Regions from separate parts of the Homo sapiens genome. Here all the other regions are linked to region 4. Evidence: promoter capture Hi-C in 16 types of primary human blood cells and fetal thymus (Javierre and others, 2016). All regions are on one chromosome and are shown on one strand. Each heading gives the region's core, a stretch centred on a gene start or on the middle of the fragment in contact. The rest is flanking DNA. Distances are from core to core; before and after follow the strand shown. Region 1 overlaps PUM2 (pumilio RNA binding family member 2). Region 2 overlaps SDC1 (syndecan 1). Region 3 has its middle 41 kb from the start of TDRD15. Region 4 holds the start of GDF7 (growth differentiation factor 7). Region 5 has its middle 14 kb from the start of SDC1. Region 6 overlaps PUM2 (pumilio RNA binding family member 2). Region 7 has its middle 56 kb from the start of APOB.

Region 1 (2,700 bases), core at 62-2,561, 380 kb after region 4:
TGTGCTTAAGGCTACAATAAAACTAAAGCCTGTGTGATTTTTAATTAAACTCTAGCTTGAGAATCTTCACAAATAGAATGTTTGGCTTAAGTTTTTAAAGAGATGATTACAAATGAAAATCTAACGGAATGCTGGTAATGAGGCACTTGATTTTGAACTTCAATGAAATTGCACAGTAAACATTTCGTACAGTGTTCTACCTCGCTACTCCCAGTTTTTTTAATCCTTCTTCTTCGAAGGGCTAAATGGTGATTTTTTTTTTCTAATATCAGCCCTTCCTTCATAGCCTGTAGTTTCTATATTAAGGAAAATACCTCTTCATTTTGTGGCCCCTGAGTAAAATTTAGAGAAAAAATGTTTAATGACAGTCTATTACTTTTTCATATATTTAGTAAGACCTTGTCAAATGTGTTGCTTTGCATATATTAACTAAGGATTTTATAGTAATGGTACAAATAGCTGTGTTGTCTAGTTGAAAAAATACAAATGCAGGGAAAAACAAATATGCATGTTTTTGTAATAAGTGCTTTCATTAGTAAACCTTTATTTTATTTAGGCTATCAAGTACTAGCTCCAACTGCCTATTATGATCAGACTGGTGCCTTAGTGGTTGGCCCTGGAGCAAGGACTGGCCTTGGAGCTCCAGTTCGGTTAATGGCTCCAACACCTGTTTTAATTAGTTCAGCAGCAGCACAAGCTGGTAAGTGTAACTGACATTTTTAGGATAATATTTTTCTGGTGTTGAGATACCATTTTTAAAATACAGAATTTTCTGGGTGGTTTAAAGAAGTATCTGAAATTTATTTTACAGCAGCAGCAGCAGCAGCTGGAGGAACTGCAAGTAGCCTTACAGGCAGCACAAATGGTCTGTTTCGGCCAATTGGCACTCAGCCACCACAGCAGCAGCAACAGCAGCCAAGCACTAATCTGCAATCTAATTCATTTTATGGAAGCAGTTCTTTGACTAATAGCTCCCAGAGTAGTTCTTTATTTTCTCATGGACCTGGTCAACCTGGAAGTACATCTCTTGGCTTTGGAAGTGGTAACTCTTTGGGTGCTGCTATAGGCTCAGCCCTCAGTGGATTTGGTTCATCAGGTAAGTTTGTTTTTACGATGAGTGTACTCTGCTAAGTGGAAGAGGTATATGAGTGTGTTTAACATTAAAATAAGCAATAATAGCATGTAGGATAGGAAGGACAGGAATAAAGTATTGGACTACTGGTTTAATTTGTAGGAAAAAAAAATCCTGCAAATCTTTTCAACACTCACCAATGTTTAACTCACTATAGGCAGCCTGTTCTTTACTCATATATAATACATTTCCTTTTTCCCTGGCTCTAGGAATTGATTACTGTAATTTTTGTTTTAGTAGGGTTTATTTGGGTCAATATATTATTCACTAATTATTAGCTCATCTTCATTCACTACATAATGTTTGTGGAGGCAAATATTTTGCCGTCTTAAATTTTTGGTATTTTAAAGCAGTTATCTTTGTGTCCTTATTAGATGGTTTATTCTTATTAAATGCTGGTAGTTTATTACAGTTTTTAAATTTGGCCTAATATAAAAAATACATATGTGTATGTATAAATACTGAAATGTTCTACACAGAATCCCCTAAGAAGCTACCAGTATGGTTATCTTTTAGATTAAATAAGTTAGCCTTTGTCACTAAAAATTCACTTAAAAGGGTATCTATTCATGTATCTTAGCTTTATATAACACTTAACAAATCAAAATTTTAAATAGCTTCACTAAATAATTGACCCACTCAAACTGGTTCCTGGATCCTGTGGTAGAGGAAGAACTAAGTGAAATCAGAAGAGGCCCACGTTGACTTCTTGTTGATACACTTGGTGTTTTCTGTGAGGTTTCCACAGTACTCAGGAAACATTAGGGAAAAAACAGCTGACCCAGTTCTATCGGTGCAGCTGGCAGCTTTTACTTCATGAGGATAGGACTATTTGGACCTCAAGAGATTTTCTGTTTCTATAACATAACTTGCTACAGTCCTTAATATCTGTTTCTGATCTCTTTTCTTACCACATCAAATTATATTCTTTTCTGGTGTGGAAAATGGCAGAACTAACACATGCCAGGCATTATTAACAATGCTTGCCAGTTTTCTAAGGGAGTGTCTTCTGAACTTTTATCATTCATATATACAGGAAGGATGGTCTAGAACAGCCACAAACTTTTAGATGGCAGAATCTTTTTTCATTTATTGTAATGAAATACAATAAGTGGATGTCATATTGGACTGACACAAAATTATCTGAAGACTGCTCATAAGAATTTCTGAGGGAAAATCCAGTGAACATGGGGATTGTTAAATCTTTTCAATTTTGTACTTGAGTTTTTTCATTGCTTTTGGAGTTGTGTATCTCTTTGTCCACCTCACGCACTCCCATAGGACTCATTCCTTGTTTCTAACACAATTGGGACATTTTCTCCAAAGAATCCTAAATATTCTGAGGAAAACTGGAAGAACAAGTAACATAAAAAACAAACTTGTGGAAATAGTTTTTAAATTATAAATTGTAGGCCCTAAATAATTCAGAAAAAAGAGAGCATTGATTAAACCCCATGTTTCCTTTCTCACGTAGTATGTCACTGATCGTCTGGTTCAGATTTCTAGGCCCCTACTCAATTCTTTCAAATTTCCATTTGTTTCTTAGTTAAGGCTGTTTTCCCCCTTTC
Region 2 (2,815 bases), core at 133-2,632, 450 kb after region 4:
GCGGTGTCTCGCCACTACATCTGGACAGTTCGACTTCCCCAGCTCTGGCAAAGGGAGGCACGTGGGCAGGGAAGGGGCGGGGGCGGGGTGGGCACTCGGGTTCTCCACTGCTAATGTGGCATCTGGACAAGTCTCAGCAGCGCTGACCCTCCGTAAGCGTTGCCTCGTGTAGTAGCTGCCAGTTATTGAGCGCTTTGGTTTTTTTTTTCTTTACAGAGTCTGTCTCATGGGAGATGAGGTAGGGACAGTCGTTTCTGAGACCGATGTGTAAAGCGCCCTCCCTGCTTCCCAGGTGACTCGTGCTTCCAGACATTTTCCGGTCCAGGAGAGGTCCCTGTGCCTATTGAACTGTGAATGGGCTGGACTGTGAGGGGTATCTGGGAGCACGGGGAGGGCCATGATTTCCGAGCTGGGTCTCATGCACTCCTGGCTTTCAGGTCCAAGAAGCTGCTCTCTAGGGTGGTGGTTTCTGTGGAACTGAGACTGTGCTTGGAGTCTTCGCTCCGAGTTTGGAGAAGAGAATGGAGCTGGGTGCCTTACCTCCCTGGACCGCTGGGCATCACCTCACTGCCCCATTCTCGCACATGATGGGGCCTCAGCAGGGGCGGCTGAAGTTGGGTCCTCCACCTATTTCCGGCTGGATTTAGGAGGGCTGCTGGTTCCCTTGCCTGCCTGGGGTAAAGCAGACATTCCAGAGCCCTGGGATCCCACCGCACCCGTTAATGCTGGGGAGGCAGGTGGAGTTTGGGCTTCCCCGTGAACTGCCTTTCCTGGAGTTTTCTGTGGGCTGGGGCAGATGCTGCAGTGTGAGGCATTATTTCTTGCCCAGAAACTTGGACATAGGGCCCAGGAGGCAGGAGAGTCTCAAAAGGGGAAAGGAGGGAGACTCCCTGGAGCTGCAGGGAGGGAAGGCTTCCTGGAGGAGGTGCTTGAGCTGAGCCTGAAAGCCCCACCTGAGCTTTGGGGTCAGACTCTGGCTTGAAGCTTAGGTGTTCTTTTTGCTTTTTCTGATCTTACAAAGATTAGTTTGTTTTCTCTTTCCCAGTTCTGCCCTCTTCCTCTTACAGTGAATGTCCATGTTAGGTTAAAGGTGGGGGCATGCACTGCCTTCCCAAAGCTCTGATACCCCTTTCCTAAAAGAAATCAGGCAGCTGGGATTTGCTTTAAGATGGGAGAAGGTATTTGCAAGTGGCAGAGATCTGACCCTCTCTGAAAGTTCACTCTGGCCCCAGTGGGAAGCAGGTCAGAAACCCCCTGGGGACCAGGGAAGCAAGGAGTGACTGAATGGGTGAGGGGAGGCTGCTAGGAGAGGAGGTTGCTCAAAACCACTCCCAAGAGACTAAAACAGGTTTGTCTAAAAAGGTTTCTCTCTCTCTTTCTCTCTGTGTGTGTGTGTGTGTGTGTGTTTACTGTGGTCTTTTGTTTCTGCCATGTAAGAAAAATGGCTTGTTCTGGAATAGTTATTTGCTATTTTTCATTCTTTCTCTCTTCTCTTTCTTGAAAGGCATAAAATCCCTTTTGCCCTAATTATGGGGGCTAGTAGAGACATTTTCCCACAGCCTGGCAGAGAGGGTATGGGGGGAGGCACTAGCTGCCTCCGCTCAGGCTCAGAGCCTTCTAGAAGTGATGTCATCCCTGGCTTCAGCTCTACAGGGAGGGTGGAGCGGTTTAAGTCTCTACCTGTGGCTCATGATGGGTTCCAGTAAAACCTCATTAACACACATTGGTAGGGAGACAGTAAGAAAGGAGAGAGCCTGGAAAGAATTAATGAAAAGCTTGACTTCTGCAGTTTTTTAGAGGAATCTTTTCTGTTGCAGCAGAATTTTGGATTCCTGAAATCCCTTGGGAATGAGGTGTCCTGTGTATTCATATTTTTTCATCAAGCTAAGAATCCCTATTACCCTCGAGTATTCTTACTCTGGGCATGACTCTCTGAAGTATTTATTTCCCTTCCTTTATCAACCAAAAAATGCTAGGCATGATTTAATCTCTGCCTGCCAGGGTCGTCCTCCTCATCATTGTGCTGGGTTAGGACATTGTCTCCTGGATTTACTGTGCTCTGAAGAGCACTTTGCCCCTCTGCCTGGTGCCCCAGGTTGCTCTGTTTTGAATTCTGGTCTTTCTCCTTTTTCCAGAGAGCAGCCAGAAGTGACATTTATGTGCCTGAGTGTAGCCAGCAGCTTTTCTGATCAGTTCTAATTTGTTACTTTTCTCCAGTGGCACTAAGAAACTAATCAGATGAGTTAGGCTTATTTCCAAGCTGAGAGTTTTAGGCTCTGGGTAAGGGCCTTGCCTGTGAGTGAGACTGATGATCTGTGATATGTGGATTTTGTACCCTTCATGAACTTCAGCTGGGACCTGTTGCAGTCTCCCCTCTACCTCCCTGCACCCCACCTAGAGTAACAAAGAGGTGCTGCCAAGGTGAGGCCTTTAGGGGCCTCTCTCAGTGGAGAAAAATGAGTCATCTCTTGGGGGAAGTGCTTGCTGACCCCCATGTTCCAAGTTCCTCGACCTGGTTTGACTTGTAAGTGACTTGCTGGTCACAGGTAGCTGGACTGACCAGCTGAGGGCCATTATTCTTTAGCCTTGACTGTTACTCTCAGCTTCGGTCATGCCCCCAACTCTTCACCACATGTTTGATTTGGATTTTAGTTCCTGTTTCTATATAATGTGCATCCATACTGTGTGACAGGCCAGAAATGGCTTTGGATTAAGTAGAGCCCCAGGACTGAGTCTCAACTCTGCCACTAATTTACTCCATAATCTGGGGTGAGTCACTTTCCTTCCAAGTCTTGTTGTCCTCATCTGTAAAGCG
Region 3 (2,701 bases), core at 121-2,620, 500 kb before region 4:
ACAAAAACTCTAAGTAGAATAAAATTAGAAGGAAACTAGTTAAATATAAACTTTAAAAACATGTATTAAAAACCAAGAGCAAATATCCTATATTCTAAAACTAAATCCACTTCAATTTAAATCAGTAACTAGAGTAGTATTCACAATCAATACTATTAATCATTTTCTTGGAAATTTTAACACATGCTATAAGAAAAAATGAAATAAATCTAAAGAATATATTAAAATATTTCTTTTATTTGTGACACTATTTTATAATTAAGATACCAAAAATTCTATTTTAGTAATGGTGATGTGGGGAAGGTATTCTCATACATTGCTCAAAGATATTTCAGCTGTTTTTGAAAGCAATATGATAACATCTATTAAAATTAAACACATTCTTTCACCCAGCAATCTCACTGATAAAAAGCTATCTCAAAGAGTCAAAGTTACTCTATGTAAGGATATATAGGCATGGATGTGTAATGTAAGTATCCTCAATGTGGCAAAAAAAAAAAAAATTAATGATGAGTAGTCACCAATAGAAAAGTTACTGAAAACAAAATTAAAATACATCCACAATTTTAAATAGTATGCATACATTTAAAAGAACAAATAGAACTACATTACCTATCTTAAAAAGATTTTCAAGAGGTAAGCTAAGAAAAGCAAAATGCAAAGAATTATGTATGATCTTATTTTTCTAGAACAAATAACACAAATTTGTAACTTGTATATATGTATTTATAGACGTATAATCACTCAGTCATTGATTTACATGCACATGGAGAAAATCTCTAGTGTTATAATGACCTACCTCAGGGCAAGGGAGGGATTATATCAATGAGGAAAGGAGGAGGAAAGGAAATCCAAGCAAATAAAGGAAATGAAAAAGTACAGGAAAAAACTGCACTTAGGAATGAATGACATAGTCATATTTATCCATTTATGTCAAATAATATACAAGGTATATGCATAATATCATGAATCCTCAAAAAAATGCTATCCTCACGTTAGACACCTGAACTGGCTTTTTCCTTAAGTTTTAAAACATAAAATAGTCATGGAAAGACAAGTAGAAATAAAGCAAGCTTAAATATATAGGACTGAATGCCACTAGATGTCAGTAAAACCACCCCAAAAAAATATAGAAACATTTTCTTAACTGCTGGGAAAATTTGCTCTTTTATCTGCAATCTTTACCTCTTAGTATATTTGACTTGTACAATATTCAAATTCAAATTAGAAGTACAGATTACCAAAAGAGAAATACAGTTCCTTAAAAGTCAGACTATAAGCCTTATTAATAAAGGGAATATTGGTTAATTAATCCCTTAGTAAATAGGGAACCTATAGTCCCTATTTACTAAGATATCCGTAGTGTTTTCACATTATTTTTAAAAGCTCATGAAATACGCCCTTTGAAGAGATGATAAAATTTTAAATTCAATTAATCAATATATATTTATCTCATGTATTATGTATAAAATATGGAGGCAAACTGAAAGAATCATTACATTTATTGAGTTTTTAACCAAGTAGGAGAGAACAAAATGCAAATTAAGCAGAATGTTATAAATAAACCAGTGCAAAGTAATATACAGTGACACATCCACTATCTAGAAACTCAGATACAGTCACATGACTTAGTATCCCAAAACCAAGTAAATAAACAAGGAAGCTTGCTTCTAGGCAGAAAAAAAAATGCATCACAAACTTTTTCACTGAAACTCTTACTTTACTCACTACCAAGTCTCTTCATTCTTACTGTACCAACAGTATCTACTAATGGCTTGCATACATATGTTTCTAGCAGCAATAATCATAATCATAATCACAAACCAAAACTTAGAAATGACTGAAATGTGATATGTTTACTGAATGGAATATTATTCAGCAATAAAAAGGAATGAACTATTGACAGATGCTATGAGATGGATGAATCTCAAAAAAATTTTGTTTAGTGAAAGGAGTCAGACAGAAGAGACCATATACTGTGTGATTCCACTTACATAAAATATTCAGAAAAGAGCAAGCTTTAAAGACAGATATTAGCATTTTCCTGTAGCAGAGGGTAGAGGCAAGACAGTACATAGGGATTAACAGTAATGTGACACAGGAATGACAATGCAGTGATAAAAATGTATTGAAACTTATTTATAGTGATAGTTACATAACTTGATAAAATTTAAATTAGTAATTAACAATTTTCCCACAAAGAAAAGTCCATGTTCAGATTACTTTACTGGTAAATACGATTAAATTTTGAAGAAAGAAATAATACCAACCCTACAAAAATGTTTTCAGTCATTTCCCAACCCATTGGCATCCTGATACGAAATCCAGACAAAGACATGATTTAAAAACCATAAATCTATATACCGGTATTACTTATAAATACAGATGCAAAATTCCTTAACAAAATATTAGCACCAAATTCAGCAAGATATTAACAAGATTATATAGCACATCTAAGTGGGATTTAACCCAGGAATCTAAAATTGATATGACATTCAGACACTCAAAAATCACACACTTCTCTTTTGTCTTCCTGGAAGGATTTCCTAGGATCACCTGACAGACAATTTAAGGGCGGGGAGGGGAAGGGGAAGCCTGTTCCATAAATTGGTCAAATCAACGTCATCTCCAGCCAATATGAACTACTGCTAAACTATAGCTCAATTCAGAAGCATTCATGAAAAACAATGAGAAGAAACTT
Region 4 (2,806 bases), core at 62-2,561:
TAAAATCCAGATGACATACAGCAGCCACACCACAGCCTCACCTACATCTTACCTTTGGAAGGCCCAGGGCAGAACAAGGTGGGGTGCTTAGTCTAAGAGAGGCCTGCATTCCTGCAGGGTCCCCAGCAGGCCTCTCCTCCCCACACCACCAGGATCCTTGACCTCTGGCTCTCCCAGGGGCCCAGCACCAGACACAGGCACCCATAGCTGCACATGTCACACACACACAAACCACCACCACCCAGACCAACCTGCTGAGCAGGGCACTCCTCATACCTGGTTATGCCACCAGCCTCTCCAGGGCCATTTACTTTAGTCTGATACCTGCCTCTGCCCTAGTTTTCCCTGGGCTTCCCCCAATTTGTGTGGCCCGCAGGAGACTGGGAGCTGCAGAAATTGCTGCAAGGAAGGAGCCATCACCCTCACCACCGTGCAGTCCCTCTCGCCGTGACTCCCGGGAACACAGCTCTTGCCCTCCTTTCTTCTCTGAGGGCTCCGAGGCCACTCCAGACCATTCCCCAAGAAGCGAATCTTGGCCTCCGCCTGCCTCCTCGAGGGGACCAGCCGGCCTGCAAGGCCAGGGAGACCTGGGAGAGGGACCAGTCAGCCCTCTGGGACTGGGCCCCGGGAGCTGCCGCGACTCTCGCCACAGTCCAGGTGCAGCGGGCTGGAGAGTGTTGGCCTCGGCGAAGTTTCTTTCTATCACCTGAGGGTGGGCCGCATGGGGCCGCGGCTCCAAATGTAACGGAGCTGCGGCACGGCTCCGGGGCTGGTCTCAGCCCAGGACCTGACGGGATGGGCGGGCACAGAAGAGGCGTAAGTACCTTGGGTCGCCTGGTCTGTGAAGCCGGTGATCGTGTCCGCGCGACCATGGCCCGAGGCGGAGACAGCGGCTGCCCCGGCCGGAGCCCTCCCGGCCAGGCTCCGGTAAAGCGACATCATGAAGTGGTGCGGCACCACCGAGCCGTTCCTGAAGCCGGAGCCCGCGGCGCGGCGCGCGGCGCGGGCCCGGGGAACCGCGGCGGCCGGGACAGCCGCGGCGCCCGCAGCCTGGGCAAGAGTCCGCCCGCCGCCGCCGCCGCCGCCGCCGCCCCCTGGGCTCCGGACCGGCCCAGCCCCCGCCGCTCGCAGCACGGCGGCCGCTTCCAGCCCGTCGCGGGGGCGGCAGGCGCTCAGCAGCCAAAGGCACAGCGCGGCGGCGGCGCTCAGGTCCATGGGCTCCGTGGGCCGGGCGGGCGGGCGGCGCGGGCTCCGTGGCTCCGGGAAGTCCCCCGGCGCCTTTTGAACATAGTGTTTAATAATGGGGGAAGTGTGCGCGGCCAGCCCGCGGCCCCCCCTCCTGGCCCACCCCACCCCCGCCCAACGCCCGGAGCAGCGCCCCCTGCTGAAAGCTCCGGCGGCCGCTATGCGCCCCCCACCCCGGCCTAGAGTGGAGACCAGGGCCGGAGCCGCCTCCTCCCACCGCAGCGCTACGCCCCCACCCTCGCCAAGCGACTGCCACTGGCCCCAGCCTCCCGACACGCCTCCCCGCGGCAGTGCGACACCCCCTCCATCCGCCCAAGACCAACGCGCCCTCCGTGGTTCCAGGCTCGGGGCACCGCGCGCACCCGCCCAGCTTCCTCCCCACTCCCCCGCAGAGAAACACCCGCCCCCTCCCTGCCCTGGTTCCCAATGCCGGGAACGGGGCGGCAGAGTTGGGGCCGCGGAAGGGCTCGCCCTCCAGACCGCTTCGCGCCGCGGCCGGGTGGCCGCGCAGAGAGAGGCCACAGGATGCTCCCGGCGGCCTCAAAGTCGCGTTCCGGATCGCGGGTCGGCGGTTCCCCACTCAGCCACAGACCCCAAAGGATTGCAGCGGGCGGCCAGAGCAGGGGAGGGGGCCGGTAGGGGAGGAAGGGAGGGCGAGGAGCTGAAAGGGCAGGCCTGTAAGAGACCTTTGGACGCGGACCGCCCGTCGTAAAAGCAAGGTTTGGGCGCGGAAGTTGCGCTTCAGCGGGAGCCAAGCTCTAGAAAGAGCTCGAAATGAGGACGGCAGCCCCGGGTGATGGGGGATCTCGCGCGGGAGTGCGCTAAGAGTTTGGCTGTGCGTCCAACTGGCGACCTTCCACCCGCCTTCTGGGCGAGGGCAGCGGCTAACGAAAACCAGCTACCGGCTGTGTGCGTGAGCGGCCAGGAGCCGGGAGAGCGGACGGCGCAGAGCCCCGGGATGGCGCCTCCGAGCTTCTTACCCCGCCGCGGTGATGGCGCGGGTCCCGAGGTGGATGGAGGGGACGCCCGGCAGCGGCGAAGCCCTGGGGCGCACTCGCGCGGGCCGCAGAGCAGTTTGCTCCGCGGCTGGGACAGGTTGCGGAGGCCAAGTCTCAGGGGAACGCGCAGGAGAGGGGGGTTATCGGCTCTGCTCCGCCGGCAGCCTGGACATCCCCCTAGATCGGAAACTTTCAGCTGATCGAAGGCCTGGGCCAAACGAACTGCCGAAGAAGGGCAGGCGGGTCCTTTTCCTTTAAAATTGCATTTTCTGCAGAACTCAAAATCTAGACTGGGTCGGCACGTCGTGATCACCTTGAGCGGGTGATCAGCTTCAAAGCGAGGTCGCCCGCCGAATCCAAAGCCGCCTAGGTCCCGACGCCTGCCTGGCTGCGCTGCGCTGGGACCCACAGAGAGGCCCGGCCCAGGCTCCCCAGTTCCCCTGCTCCACTGCTTCGTCCCAAACGAACTCCTCAGCCATTGCCCTCTCGGCCACCGCGGAGACGCGGCGCCTGCTCACCTTGGGGCATTGAGCCGCATAACACTCGAGAATGTTTGCGGGTGG
Region 5 (2,904 bases), core at 143-2,642, 430 kb after region 4:
TTTTGATGACCTATTGGAAAAGATCTGGGACTATCTGAAACTAGTGAGAATTTGCACCAAACCCAAAGGCAATTACCAGGTTACACATCCTCAGTGGTACTTCCTTACTCCAGGACCACAGTGGAGATTTCTGCATGAAGATTCACAAAAATCTTATCAAAGAATTTAAATATGCTCTGGTCTGGGGTCTCTCTGTGAAACACAATCCTCAAAAAGTGGGTAAAGACCATACGTTGGAGGACAAGGATGTCATTCAAATTGTGAAGAAGTGCAACCTTTTCCTTTTCCCATCTACCGGGCGAACCACAGCAGCCTTCCCCATGATCAAGCACCCTACCCCAGTTCCTTCTGGTTTTGGCAGTCACTGGATCAGGATCCAGGGGAGGGAGATGGAGGCACCAAAACTGGCACTTCGTTAGTCTTACCTTGCTGTCACCTTGTATGTCGAACTGCATAAAAGACCTGGTAGGCTGGTCATCTATGTGCAAAAAAAAAAAGAAAAAGAAAACCATTATACTTGAGCGAATTCTTATAGTATAAAAACTTCCCAACAATCAAAAGCAAACAAAATAAAAACAAACAAAAAGCTTCTCCTCATTGTCTCTGCCTTTCAATTTCATTCCCCTCCCAAGAGTTAATCGTTGTTAACTGTTGAGTATGCAAATTCCAAATATTTTTCTTTGTATTTATTAGGCCATAATGAAGAGCCTAATAAACCCAAGAAGCTGAAATCATACAGGACACATTCACTGAATAGAATGCAATTTAATTAGAAAGGGAGGGCAAAACGATCTTAGAAACAGAAATATATTTATTAATAAAGCATGTATCTTCAAAATATAAATATATTTGTTACTAGAAATATATCTTAGAAAAAAATTTATTTGAGACAAGGTCTCGCTATGTTTCCAGGCTGTCCTTGAATTCCTGGCCTCAAACAATCCTCCCACCTAGGCCTCCCAGAGTATTGGGATTACAGGCATGAGCCACCATGCCTACTCTAGAAATTTTTTAAAATACTCTTCTTAGTAACTCCTCATTTAAAGAGCTAATCTAATCTAGAACAAACTATTATGGGTTAATTTCCAAATTAATAGCAATGACAGACATATATAAAAACCTGGGGATTCAGGCCAAACGTTATTTAAAGAAAATGTTTAGTCAAGAAAATCTGAAGATAAATGAACTCAAGAAGCTAGTAAAATAAGACCAAAAAAAATTACAAAGAAAGCGGAAGGACGGAATTAATAACAAACTCACACACACACTCACAAAAACTTGACCAGTTAAAAATAATGAATTAGACATGCTTTTGGAAAATTTGAATTTAGCAAAAAAGATGAAAGACACAAACAGTAAGAAGATATAAAATTGTGATTTTTAATTATAAGAGAATTTATATTAAAAGTCTACTTACAAACTAAAAATTAAATGAAATAAATAATTTTCTTTCCTTTTTTTTTTGAGACAGAGTCTCACTCTGTCACCCAAGCTGGAGTGCAGTAGTATGATCACCATCACAGTTCACTGCAAACTCAGCCTCCCAGGCTCAAGTTATCCTCCCACCTCAGCCTCCCAAGTAGCTAGGACCACAGGTGTGCTCCACCACACCCAGCTAATTTTTAGTATTTTTTTATAGAGATGAGTTTTCGCCACATTGCCCAGGGTGGTCTCAAACCTCTGAGCTCAAGCGATCCTCCTGCCTCAGCCTTTCAAAGTGCTGGGATTTACAGGTGTAAGCCTCTGCACCCAGCCCAAAATAAATAATTTTCTAGGGAAATATATAGTTCCAAAATTGATTCAAGAGGAGTGGGAAACTTGACTATATCAATACCATTAAAGAAATTAAGGAAGTAGGAAACAAACAAACAAAACCAGAGGTATCACGTTTCCTGATTTCAAAACTTATTAGAAAGCTACAGTAATCCAAACAGTGTGGCACTGGCATAAAGACAGACATACAGACCGAAGGAAGAGAATAGACAGACCAGGGAGAAACCCTCGCATATATGGTCAAGTGATCTTCCACAAGGGTGCCAAGACCGTCCAATGAGGAAACAACAGTCGTTGCAACAAGTGATGCAAAAGTTGGTCCCTTACCTTACATCATATACAAAACTAACTAAAAATGGATGAAGATCTAAACGTAAGACCGAAAACTGTGAAACCCTATAAGAAAATGTAGGGGGAAAGCTTCGTGATGTTGGATTTGGCAGTGATTTGGCTATGACAGCAAAAACACATGCAAAAGCAAAACTAAATAAATGAGACTACATCAAACTTTAAAATGTCTGTGCACCAAAGGAAACAATCAACAAAGTGGAAAGGCAATCTACAGACTGGGAGAAAATATTTGCAAATATGTAAATAATAAAGGGTTAATATTCAGAATACATAGACACCTACAACTCAACAACAACAAAAAACAACGTGATTTTAAAATGGACAAAGGACTTAAATAGACATTTCTCCAAAGATGATATATAAATGGCCAAGAAGAATGTGAAAAGATGCTCAATGTCATCAGTCATCATCACGGAAATGCAAGTCAAAACTGCAATGAGATATCATTTCACACCCATTGAGACAGCTACTAAAAGAAAAAAAAAAGAACAAGGAAATAACAAGTGTTGGTGAAGCCTCTGTGGAAAAAACAGTATGGTGCGTCTTTGAAAAATTAAAAATAGAATTACCTTGTGATTCAGCAATCCCACTTCTTGAAATACCTCCAAAGGAATTGAAAGCAGGCTCATATTAAAACAGTCAATAGCTAGTGGTGTGTGTTTATATACAATGAAATTTTTATCAGCCTTGAAAAGAAAGGGTACATGCCACAGCATGGAGGAAAGTTGAGGACACTGCACTAAATGAAATAAGCCAGCCACAAAAAGACAAATACTGTAT
Region 6 (2,910 bases), core at 250-2,749, 410 kb after region 4:
TATGATGTTATGACAGTTCCTACCCAATAGGAATTTATCTCCATTATAATCTTATGGGACCACCATTGTATATGTGGCTTGTTGTCAATTGAAATGTGGTTAAGCAGTGCATGACTGTAGTTGGTAGTTCCTTCAGAGTAACAAATGAGCCTTGTGTCACCCAGAATGGCTTTCTTGCTTAGGAATTCATTCATGTTGGATGAATTTTACTTCTAAGGGTTTCCTTTATTATGTTCTAAAAGTTAGATGTTTAGTAATACATTGTATATTATGAAAAATAAATGAATAAGCAGCAAAATTTACGTAATTTTCTTATTGATTATAATGTAACCAACCTAAGAAAGATTAAACATCTTTATATCCAGGTTTTTTGTCACTCTATCTTTAGATAAGGTGTTATAAAGAAATGCTATATAACTTTTGTCCTTTTTGCTGTAAGTTAGCTGTCTACTATATAAAGTATGGTAATATTTATGGAAATAACTTGCAGTGCATATATGTGGAAGGGTAGGGTGTAATACTCAAGTGTATTAAAAAACATATTGTCATATTAAAAATGTTCCCTATGTAGATTCATACAGCAAAAACTAGAGAGAGCTACTCCAGCTGAGCGACAGATGGTATTTAATGAAATTCTGCAAGCAGCCTATCAATTAATGACTGATGTTTTTGGCAACTATGTTATACAGAAGTTTTTTGAGGTAAGGATTCATGCATATTTGTATATCCGCCCATCCAGCTGTTGTATACTTGATGCTAAGAAAAGCTCTGAAAGTTGGGTAAAGTCATTTTCATATAAAAAAAGATAATAAGCCAGGGATAAGATATTTACAAATTATATATGCGGTAAACATTTTATCCAGGATATATTGTAATGAACTCCTAAAAAGTCAACAACAAAAAGACAACCCAAATGACAAATGGACAAAGGACTTGCACAGACATTTCTCTATGTAAAATAATACAAAAGGCCACATAGGCCATGAAAAGATGCTCAACATCCTTACTAATCAGGGAAATGCAGATCAATCTCACAATGAGATACCATTTTATACCTACTAAGATGACTGTAATCGGAAAACATAAAATCGGAAAATAACAAATGTGGATGAGGATATGGAGAAATTAGAGCCCTCATAAATTGCTGGTGGAAATGTAAAATGGTGTAGCTGCTATGGAAAACAGTTTGGCAGTTTCTCAAAATTAAATATTGAATCACCACACAATCCAGCAATTGTACTCCTAGGGGTACAATTGAAAGCAAATGAATTGAAAGCAGGAACCTGAACACCAGTATATATTGCACCATTATTCACGATAGCCAAAAGGCGGAAACAGCCCAAGTGTCCGTCAACAGATGAGTAGATAAATACAAGTGGTATATGTATACATTATAGAATATTATTCAGCCATAAAAAGGAATGACGTTCTGATACATACTACAACATGGATGGACCTTGAAAATACTAACTTAAGTGAAACAAGCCACACACAAAAGGACAAACATTGATAGTGATCTACCAGTATGAAATGTCTAGAATAACTAATAGTGGCATAAAGTAGATTAGGGGTTACTGGGCCTAGAGGAAGAAGGGTTTAGAAAGTTACCATTTAATGGATACAGCATTTGTGTTTGAGGCCACGGAAAAGATTTGGAAACAAATAGTGATAGTGATGGTGGTTGCACAACAGTGTGAATATAATTAATGCTACTCAATCACCTAGCTAAAAATGGTTCAAATGGCAGTTTGTCACAAAAAAAATTTTAACATGAACCACTTTAAATGAAAATTTGCTATTAATCCTGATTCATATTTGAAAATATAAAGCATTGGTAGTCAATCTTTGGTAAAGTAGTTAATGAATAACACTATAGTCTTTGGATTTATAGATGTGTGTTATTTTACAGTTTAGCCAATTTTTAAATTTATAAGCATCTGTGTTGTAGCTTAATGACTTTAACAGTTTTTTCCTCAATCATATCAGAATGTAGTTTGATGATTATCTGGGTGAAGAGTTTTGGTGGTCAACGTATGGCTAAGAAAGTTATATATTAAAGATGAAGGGTTTTGGCCGGGCGCGGTGGCTCACGCCTGTAATCCCAGCACTTTGGGAGGCCGAGGCGGGTGGATCATGAGGTCAGGAGATCGAGACCATCCTGGCTAACAAGGTGAAACCCCGTCTCTACTAAAAATACAAAAAATTAGCCGGGCGCGGTGGCGGGCGCCTGTAGTCCCAGCTACTCGGGAGGCTGAGGCAGGAGAATGGCGTGAACCCGGGAAGCAGAGCTTGCAGTGAGCCGAGATTGTGCCACTGCAGTCCGCAGTCCAGCCTGGGCGACAGAGCGAGACTCCGTCTCAACAAAAAAAAAAAAAAAAAAAAAAAAAGATGAAGGGTTTTGTAAAGATGTTCACTTTAAAAGAGTGTTTCTTTAAAAGGTAGTTAACATATTAGTAACAAGGAAATTTTAGTAAGACTTAACCCAAAGAAGTAATAAAAAATTATTATTGGAAACATTTCCCAGTCTATCTTAATTAGCTTCTACCTTAAAGCCCCTGCCCTACATAGTTACTGATAGAATGAATAGACTGCAAACACTGCCTTACTCAAGTTCAACAAAGCAATATTAAGGTCACTTGTTATTAATGTTATATCTTTTCTGTCAGTTTGGGAGTCTGGATCAAAAATTAGCCCTGGCTACTCGTATTCGTGGTCATGTTCTACCCTTAGCCTTGCAGATGTATGGCTGCCGCGTTATTCAGAAAGCATTAGAATCTATTTCTTCTGACCAGCAGGTAATTGTAAGTTAAGACAAAATTTTTGTATTATTTTATTCAATTTTTAAATTATTACATGTTTTTAATCTTACAGTAATCTTGAAGTGAAAAGACTTAAATATTTCCACAACTA
Region 7 (2,875 bases), core at 73-2,572, 320 kb before region 4:
CCTTCTCTAAGCCAACTGCCCTCTTTCCTCCTATTAGTTTGTCCCGTGCCCTCCCTTGGCTGGGCCTGGGTTTCACGGGTCTCATCCCTTCCATAGCCCATGACTGGGGTCCCAAGCTCCTGGCAGGGGCTCAACATAACCCTGTTGATCAACTTCAGGGCAGAATTGGTCCCAACCACACATCTTCATGGATGCCAGGAGCCAGTGCTTCAAGGGAAGGCTGTGCTCCCTTCCCATCCCTTTCTCCGTGAGAACTCAGCAAGTGAGTGAGGAAAGGCAGGGTGAGGCGGGGCCAGTCCCCAGGAGGGGCCATGCTGTGATTGATGATGCCCTGGCGTTCTCCAGAGGCTCACCAGGCAACTGAGTGTGGCTGCTGGCTGAGGAATGCAGAGTGAGTGGCCCAGGCCCTCCTCGAAGCTCCAGGGCTGTTCTCTTTGCCTGGAGAAAATGTCCTTGCTCACAGTTTCCCAGCATTCAGCCCAAATCTCACCAAGGGAAAGAGGCTGTGTCCTTCTGTCCCAGCCTCCAACTGAGAACACGAAAAGAACAGACTCCAGGCCCAACTGCCTGAGTTCTAATTCCAGCTCTCTTGTGCACTTAGGGGTAACCTTGGACAGGTTAGGGAGCTGTTCTGTGCCTCCACTTCTGCATATATAAAACGGGAATAATCATTGCACTACCTCAGAGGGTTCTGGTGAAGACTTAGAAGTTCATTGTGTAAACTTCTCAGACTAGTGTCATGCAATGTAAATGCTGCCCAAGTGCTTTTATCTGATCATCCCTGAGTACCCATCAAACACCTCTACCTCTCTCACCATCTCCTAAAGTCGCAATAGGTTTCTGTCATGTTTGGTACCTGATGCTGGGAAGCTTATGTCTCTGTTGAGTTTCTGCCTCTGCCATACATACTTAAGGGCAGCATGTATGCAGGCCTCAAAATGTGGGGAGGAGGTTTCTCAGGGGACCAGGCCGGCATAGCCTGCTAACCTGGACAAGCCATGCCGCTGTTCCATCCACCAGGGAAGAGGTCCAGTGATGCCCTCTTTTCTCCTCTCCCACCCTGAAGTCACTCAAAGCCCAAATCCCTGGAGGGTGTCTGCCACAGCACACGTGTGATGAACAGGAGCAAGTTATCAGTCTTCAACAACAACCTACACATCTATTGAAAGTAATGAAATGCACATCATCCGGCACTGATGTCTCTCCAAGTCCCAAAGTCGGCTGTGCAGCCCAGGGCTCAGCAACGTGGGGAGGCCATTCCCAGCTGGAGGTTGCTCATGCCTCAGTGGGCCCGCAGGTCGCAGCCCCAGGGAGGCCTGAGGTCAGGCCCCCATCACACCTCCACAGACCACATCAGTCTCATCTGTGCAAATAAACAATAGGACCGAGTGATCTCTAAAGGCCTTCAGATTCTGGCAGACTTCAGAGGGGAGCCCCTATAGTATCATCATTACCATCACCGTCATCATCAGGAGTAATTTAACAGAGCTCAGCTCCAGATCACTTCTTGCAAGGCCATGTTAATAGTGCTGCAACAAATGCATAGTAACATCCTGTGTCTTTATTTTACAGACGGGGAAACTGAGACTCAAAAAGGTTAAGTAGCTTCACTTTTAAAACTTATGAACAGCCGAGTAGGCATAAACTCCAGATCTGTGTGATCTCCAAAATCATACCTGGAAACATTCACTGTGCCATTTTATAATAAAACTGATGACACCAATAATAGTAACAACTTCCACGTGCCAGGCACACCATATGGGTGTAAGCTTATTTCACCCTTACACCAACCTTATACAAAGGTAGGTATGATCATCCCAATTTTTCAGGGGGATTAAATAACTTGTCTAGAGCCAACAGAGTACTCTAACTTGTCAAATTCAATTGTGTCATTCCTTTTGTTGAAAATCAAACATTAACCGGCACACATCTTCCTAATCACTTACCCAGGTTTATTTCTGAGGACAGAAGGACTGATATTCTTCCAATTAGCACAAGGAAGGCCATGCCAGCCGTTAAAGTATTGAAGTACTTTTGGACCAATTCGTATATAGGGGCTGCCCCCCAAGCTCCCCAAACTCTCACACATACCCCAGTCATTCCGGCTTCTCCCGCAGGACCCTCTGGCCTCCCAGGACTCCAGCCAATGCTGAGTTACTGACAGTGTTTATTCTGATTGGTCAGTGACTGTGGTAGGCTGGGTACTAAACATCCTGAGTAGGGCCCTTGGTAATGGTAACCGAAGCATATAGACACAGGCATATAGGTGTACACATTACATTGACTCCTGGCCCAACACATGCACACGGAGGACACAGAAATGCAGAAACACCTACATACAGACACAGGCTTGTGCACACACACACAAACACATGCACGTGCAGATACACATATCTGCATAAATGTATGCATGCATGCACACATACATGAACAGATGCACCCCCCCATGTCCACATGCACACATACATGAACACATGCATACCCCCAGTGTCCTCCAAATTTCAACAGTTTGGTCCTAAGACAGGAAGAGCCACCCCACAGACCTGCTCAGGAGACAGAGGGTTCCAAAGAGCTCAGCACACAAAAAGCACTGCACTAGAAGTCTAGCAACAAGACTCTAGCTTGTTACATGACCTTGCGCAAGTCAGAGCTATGGCACTGCAGGCGCAAAAAGATTTACAGCATGGCTTAACCTCTCCAAGGGTGAAACAGAATCATAGTCCCCATGTGCCAAGATCCTCGTGGTGTTTCTGTGAGATGCCAGTGCTTTGTCATCCCCATGTTCTCCTCCCTGCCTTTCGTCCTCCCTGGGAAAAAAGCAATAGAAAGGAGGGCTCCAGATGGACAGAGAAGGGCGAGCAGGGGAGCAGGGGTC

What was found. The method cuts DNA at HindIII sites, captures the fragments that hold promoters and counts their contacts. A CHiCAGO score of 5 or more calls a contact.
Region 1: a fragment that was not itself captured here is called in contact with the fragment with the promoter of GDF7 in region 4 in 2 of 17 cell types (neutrophils and monocytes); the score reaches 11.1 in neutrophils.
Region 2: a contact is called between a fragment that was not itself captured here and the fragment with the promoter of GDF7 in region 4, in 1 of 17 cell types (neutrophils). The highest score is 5.8, in neutrophils.
Region 3: a contact is called between a fragment that was not itself captured here and the fragment with the promoter of GDF7 in region 4, in 2 of 17 cell types (megakaryocytes and endothelial precursors). The highest score is 7.6, in megakaryocytes.
Region 5: a contact is called between a fragment that was not itself captured here and the fragment with the promoter of GDF7 in region 4, in 3 of 17 cell types (neutrophils, monocytes and naive B cells). The highest score is 9.5, in neutrophils.
Region 6: a fragment that was not itself captured here is called in contact with the fragment with the promoter of GDF7 in region 4 in 1 of 17 cell types (neutrophils); the score reaches 7.2 in neutrophils.
Region 7: a fragment that was not itself captured here is called in contact with the fragment with the promoter of GDF7 in region 4 in 14 of 17 cell types (megakaryocytes, naive B cells, erythroblasts and 11 more); the score reaches 9.5 in megakaryocytes.

The regions. Positions count from the first base shown.
Region 1 is chr2:20,281,343-20,284,042 of GRCh38, reverse strand. PUM2 (pumilio RNA binding family member 2) reads left to right here. Exons shown (of 21, transcript NM_015317.5): 11 at 557-700; 12 at 812-1,096. Among named protein-coding and RNA genes, the nearest start is that of SDC1, 58 kb to the right of the region's middle. The HindIII fragment of the contact is 9,280 bases long and covers 1-2,700 here.
Region 2 is chr2:20,220,680-20,223,494 of GRCh38, reverse strand. All of the region lies in intron 1 of SDC1 (syndecan 1), which reads left to right. Among named protein-coding and RNA genes, the nearest start is that of SDC1, 3.0 kb to the left of the region's middle. RefSeq lists enhancers at 157-663, 664-1,171. The HindIII fragment of the contact is 791 bases long and covers 987-1,777 here.
Region 3 is chr2:21,163,971-21,166,671 of GRCh38, reverse strand. No RefSeq gene overlaps it. Among named protein-coding and RNA genes, the nearest start is that of TDRD15, 41 kb to the right of the region's middle. The HindIII fragment of the contact is 590 bases long and covers 1,076-1,665 here.
Region 4 is chr2:20,665,649-20,668,454 of GRCh38, reverse strand. It overlaps GDF7 (growth differentiation factor 7), which reads right to left and starts at 1,311. Exons shown (of 2, transcript NM_182828.4): 1 at 825-1,311. The coding sequence starts at 1,215. RefSeq lists enhancers at 632-751, 1,738-2,568 and silencers at 1,232-1,381, 1,422-1,471, 1,542-1,651. The HindIII fragment of the contact is 16,143 bases long and covers 1-2,806 here.
Region 5 is chr2:20,237,257-20,240,160 of GRCh38, reverse strand. It overlaps the pseudogene DRG1P1. Among named protein-coding and RNA genes, the nearest start is that of SDC1, 14 kb to the right of the region's middle. The HindIII fragment of the contact is 1,606 bases long and covers 590-2,195 here.
Region 6 is chr2:20,258,128-20,261,037 of GRCh38, reverse strand. PUM2 (pumilio RNA binding family member 2) reads left to right here. Exons shown (of 21, transcript NM_015317.5): 15 at 572-701; 16 at 2,667-2,795. Among named protein-coding and RNA genes, the nearest start is that of SDC1, 34 kb to the right of the region's middle. The HindIII fragment of the contact is 4,669 bases long and covers 1-2,910 here.
Region 7 is chr2:20,986,559-20,989,433 of GRCh38, reverse strand. No RefSeq gene overlaps it. Among named protein-coding and RNA genes, the nearest start is that of APOB, 56 kb to the left of the region's middle. RefSeq lists enhancers at 1-59, 60-561. The HindIII fragment of the contact is 899 bases long and covers 873-1,771 here.